Regions from separate parts of the Homo sapiens genome. Here region 2 is linked to region 1. The links are contacts of gene promoters, found by promoter capture Hi-C in blood cells and fetal thymus (Javierre and others, 2016). All regions are on one chromosome and are shown on one strand. The core of a region is centred on a gene start or on the middle of the fragment in contact, and the rest is flanking DNA. Distances in the headings are between cores, read along the strand shown. Region 1 holds the start of CSMD3 (CUB and Sushi multiple domains 3). Region 2 has its middle 200 kb from the start of LINC01608.

Region 1 (2,794 bases), core at 154-2,653:
TGCTGAGCGGGCAGCTCCAACGCGAGCCAAGGGACAAAGCTGGCCAGGGTAATGCTGTGGTGCACGGGACCAAACCCATTATTTGTGCACAGTGCAGGGAGCTGCAAACTCAAGTTGGGCAGTCCTCTAGACTAAGCCTTGTTGATAGACGCTCACGCCCATGATAGCCTGAGGCAGTTAAATGGAGCCACACGCAACAGCAATATCCTGTTTCAGAACTAGCGCTGTGGCACTCCCCACTGCTGAGAGGGGACCAGATTCCCGAAAAGGTCAGATCACCAATCAGTTGCCTAATCTAAGGAACTTGTTCATTGAAAGATTTGGGCCAGGACCGTGGTCGAAAAAAATCAAGGAGCACGACATACTGGTCCCGGGGACACAGCTCCCCTGACACCAAGGGATGGCAAAAACAGGGTCCCTTATACATGCGAAGGAAGAACGGGCGGCTCGGAGACGGCCAGTAGATGGCGCAAGAACTCTTCCCTTGTGCAATCTTAACCCTTGCGTGGTGCATGGGGGAAGCAGATCCAGATGTATAGATACATACATTTTTCGTTTTGAAAGAAACCTCCTATTTACATATTTGGTACCGATTCAGAATTAAGACAAATGGGTTTGTTCTAGATAACTACCACAGATAAAGTAGTTTAACTGCGGCACACACAAACTGAAAAGGGGGTTGGGAGGATGAAAGGGAGAACTATTTGAGGAAACGACATTGACTTCCCTCCCCACCCCACCCCCGCCCAGGCCACGGATGAAATCCGTTTCCCGAATCATAAAAACCCGGTGAAGGGTTTACACGTAGTTATTTGAGTATGTAAATACATGTGTTCAAATACATTCTTTTCCGTGTGAAGGCAGAATTTATTGAGAAAATTCTCTGTGATTTCCTTTTTCAATTAAATCACAGGATAATAAATGGGAGAAGCCTGCCTGAAATATACTGCAACTACAGTAGTAACACATGTCCCATTATAACGACGTGGGCATCGATGGAGCCCGATTCATTATCGTCACGGTTTCCCCAAAAGCAACACAGATCCTCCGATTAAAATATTCCTTTGACATGCTTCTGTATTCGCAGCCTGCAACGGAGAGCTCACTAACATTATTTCTTGGGCTGCTTTTACAGGCAGAATTGATCTATTCGGGGAAAAAAAGCAAGCCCCTTAATTTCAAATATTGTGTGGAGTTTATCAGAGAGCAGAGGTGGGCTTTAAGAGGCTCACTAGTGGTTTCTGGTGGTTGCTATAACGAGCCAGAATTGGGGTAGATTTTGGTGGAGGGGAAAAAACGCACAAGAAAAGACAGAATCCAGAGTAGCGGAGACTTTGTGCCCCCGTTGGAGAGATGGTTGAGTCCTCGTCAAGGTTGCTGTGGTATCCCAGAAACACCATTCACTCCGAGCTGTGACCGCGCACCAACAACAGCAACAACTCCACTGCGCCGGGCTGAGGAGCAGGAATTAGGAGCTCGCGAATAATATGAAAGGGATCCGCAAAGGGGAAAGCCGAGCAAAGGAATCCAAACCCTGGGAGCCTGGCAAGCGAAGATGCGCTAAATGTGGCCGCCTAGACTTCATCCTGATGAAGAAAATGGGGATTAAAAGTGGATTTACGTTTTGGAACCTCGTCTTTTTATTGACGGTGTCTTGTGTGAAAGGTAGGTCTGCTTTGGGGGTCCCCTCCGCTTTGGATGGAGGTGGGCTGACTTGTAGATGGAGAGAGGCTGGCAGCTTACTTTGCAATTTGCACCGATAAAATAATCTGATAATACTAAAGGAGTTGATTCACAGCTCGTTCTCCCCCCCTCAGATAGGAAATGCATTTTGCTTGCCAGATTTGGCGTTCAATGCGGTGATTGAGCTTGTGCTCAATAAATATTCTTGCAGTATGCTCAAACGAATACGTGAGTTGGTTAGTATAGCCTCTAACTAGTGGATATCCAGGCAGAATTCCTCTGCAAGACTTTTCTTAGTGGTGAGGATTACCTTGATTTCTTGTCAGATCACTAGGGCTTGAGGCTTTGGGTGGAATATATATATTAAAGACGCTGGTCTAAATGCTTTTTAACCCTTTCAGGGAAGAAAGTTATCGACGTGCTAGGAATGTGTTGATTTTAAATGCATTAGGGCACAGGGATCTTCCAAGCACTGCCACATCAACATGAATGTCTGCATGCATATGTATGTAAATTGGGCTTCTATGCAATGTTAAATGTAGGGGAGCTTCCCTAGGACCTGTGGTAGAGGTTTGGCAAAAAATGAGGCTTTCGAAGGGTCTGAAATGCCATGAAGTGTAAAGAACCACCTTAAGGGATGAATGAGGTAGGAGGAAAGTCATTAGCTGACGACCAAAAGAAAATCCCCAGCAAGTCTCAGCGTTCAGACAGGTAGAGTGAGTGTCACATGCACAGATAGGGGAGGGGGTAGGTGGGATGTAAAAATGTATTCCCAAGCAGGAAGGCAAGGGACAGTCAGGATCATGGGAAAAAGAGCTGTCCTTAGGGAGAAAATAGATCCATAGCTCTCTTCCACAACTTCTCCGGCACCCTGCTGCCCATTAATTGCTGCAAAGAATACTCAGGAGGTGTTTATGACTCATGCCATCATTTTTTGAACAATCACCTCTCCATACTCATGGCAGCTCGAATAGACGCTATGGATGCCGCTTTCAGTGAAGCTAGTTTCAAATCCCGGGTGTCTGTGTGTCGCGGGGGGGCGGGGGATCGCGGGAAAGGGGGTGCTGTTTTGGCCCAGGCGCGCCAGGGCTGTCAACACAAACTGGACGCT
Region 2 (2,794 bases), core at 167-2,666, 2.6 Mb after region 1:
AATATAGTATTAATCACTGAAGTTATTTTCAGTTGCATATTTTGATTAGATTTCAATTTTTTAAACTACGTGAAAGTCTCTAAACCATTTTCAGATTCAGAAACCTTATTTTAAATATATATGTTCAGGAATTTCTATTTCTGCTACAGTATGAAGACCTTAGAAGGCATCACTGTCATCCTTCCTTCAAGAAAAAAGAAAAACTGAACAAACTAAAAATCAAAAAGCATTCTTAAGTGCATCCTAGAATTAAGGTTACATAACGGACTGATGCTCTTAAAACCAGAGAGACTTTCAAATACAGAAAGTTTCAGCTCACCAAGAACAGAAGATGCTAGAAGAGGAAGAAGAGGAAAACTTAAATGGTTGCTGATCAAGTGTTGGTCACGTTGTGTGTAGAAGCTTCAGAGTTAAAAACTACTGAAGATTCAGCCTTAAGGGTCACTGTAGTGAGCTTTATCCCCAGGAGCTCATCCAGATTCTCGTGGTGAAAATATGAAAAAAGCCCCTCATGCTTCAGCAAAAGGAGAGGAAAACTAACCATCATGGAGAATGCTCATGAGAAAGTAACCAATTTGAAATATACTAAAAGATTATTTTTCTCTGTCCTCAAAGGAAACCACTTTGCAAGAAGTTAACTAAAGTAAAGGTAGGTAAATACTCAGTTTCAGCCTTCTCTGGTCTTAGTTGAGAAAGTTAGTTCTGTGTGTATGGTGTCAGTCTATGTGTGTGGTGTGGGAGGAGGGAGGGACTGAGGGGCACTTACAAACATCACACCCTAGGGACACAGGCCCACTAAAAGACTGAGACTGAATCATGGCATGATTGAAGGCTTCCTCTCCCCACACACCTTACCACCACATCAACAGAGTATCTGTGTCACAGCAGAAGATTACATCTGATAGAACTACAAGGCTCAGACTATATTTAATGAAGAATTTCTAGGGAAACCTAAAGACAACAGGAAAGACAAAACAAGGACAGTAGAGGAAATTGAAGTCATGCATTGGTGCGCACAGCAAACAGTAAAGACTAAACAACTTTCAGCCTCGTAAATGTAAACTCTTATACACAATTTCTATTTCCAAATATAACATGTCTGACTTCCAACAACAACAACAAATTACAAGGCATGTTTCAAGGCAAGAGAAAATATAATCTGGATAGACAATGAAATTTCAATTTCTTAGAAAAATTCAAACAAGGTGGTAATATAGTCATTTTTAAAGAAAACAAGCATGCTTTGGGAGGCTGAGGTGGGGTGATCACTTGAGTTCAGGAGTTTGAGACCAGCCTGGCCCACATGGTGAAACCTCATCTCTACTAAAAAACACAAAAAATTAGCCGAGCATGGTGATGGGTGCCTGTAATCCCAGCTACTCGGGAGGCTGAGGCAGTAGAATCCCTTGAACCTGGGAGGCGGAGGTTGCAGTGAGCTAACACTATTGACTCCAGCCTAAGGAACAAAAAAAAAAAAGGAAAAAAATGACCTAAACAAGTTACTTGATGATTAGTTTGATGGCAACAGAATATGCAATTTTTGAAACACCAGAAAAATAAGTTTGTTTTCTTATTAATACAAATTATAAATGTGATGCAGGGAGTGAAGTTTCCTAAGGAAAATTGACAAGATTGGCTGCTAAAATGCCCTTTCTTTTTATGAAAAATGTACATTGCAAAATTTTGAGTGAATTATATTCTTTTAAATTTTTGGATGATGGTGGGTTTTATGTGTGTAAATTACATATTTCTCAAAGAAAATAGCATTATTTGGGGTTGTCTAAATGGCACAGTGAGATCAGAGGAGTTAATTTCAGGAGGGTTGAACAAAAAAATTTATTCAATCGCAAATTGTAAAATCAGATTAACATTTTTTACTTTTATTAAAATATATGTTTTTAATTGTCATTGCTTTTCTTAGAGGTAATCCCTGTGCTTTACCTTTTGATAATTATTTTTATGCTTTTTTGTTTAATAGTTGTATGCATCTCTACATAACAGAGTTAAGTTTTGCTCAATTTAAACTAATGTGGATACAATCTTAACGGATGTATTATATTTGATGTTGTCTTGTTTGCTTCATATTATGTTTTATAGATTAATCCCTGTCATAATTTATAATTTTTAGTTTTCATTCTTCTCTGATATTTATTATACGTATGTAAAATATTTATTTTGCAATTTTATTCTTGATGGATGACTATTACAAACAATTAATTATAGGCATTCTTAAACATGAACACTGGAATGAAACATTTTTACAAGTAGAAAGAATATTGTATAGATAAATGAAAATTTATTCACTGAGAGACCTACTTTTTAAAGTGTAAATGTGTATATAAACATGTCTTAACATTTTAGAAGCCTACTGTGCACAGACTTACAACACAATTGTTCAAGGGAAAATATTATTATTGAACAAAAAGCTTTGGATTACAGTTCAATGGTAATGTTACAAAACTAAAGATCAAGCTAAACTACAGATTAACTCTTTTCACCCTTTTTGACCTCAGCACTTTCTTTTGAGCATCTAGACTAAAAATGGTAGTCTTGCTAATTGCCAATTGGCAATTGGCTTTTTGGGGGCTCTTCAGAAACTAATATCAAATTGACTTTGCTGTTCAATAGCACACTATTTGAAATAAATGATATATTTATGGATTTGGAAAATTCACTTGGGCCCCACAACATATACTCCTGAAAGTCTGAATATTTTCTTTTTTAATTTGTATTGCTATAGCCTCTGTCTAATTATTAGGCCAAAAAGAGTAATCAACAATTATTTTTGAGATAA

The links. The method cuts DNA at HindIII sites, captures the fragments that hold promoters and counts their contacts. A CHiCAGO score of 5 or more calls a contact.
Region 2: a fragment that was not itself captured here is called in contact with the fragment with the promoter of CSMD3 in region 1 in 1 of 17 cell types (endothelial precursors); the score reaches 11.7 in endothelial precursors.

The regions. Positions count from the first base shown.
Region 1 is chr8:113,435,548-113,438,341 of GRCh38, reverse strand. It overlaps CSMD3 (CUB and Sushi multiple domains 3), which reads left to right and starts at 1,403. Exons shown (of 71, transcript NM_198123.2): 1 at 1,403-1,665. The coding sequence starts at 1,488. RefSeq lists enhancers at 1-469, 482-531, 2,309-2,794. The HindIII fragment of the contact is 6,354 bases long and covers 1-2,794 here.
Region 2 is chr8:110,825,464-110,828,257 of GRCh38, reverse strand. No RefSeq gene overlaps it. Among named protein-coding and RNA genes, the nearest start is that of LINC01608, 200 kb to the left of the region's middle. The HindIII fragment of the contact is 2,024 bases long and covers 405-2,428 here.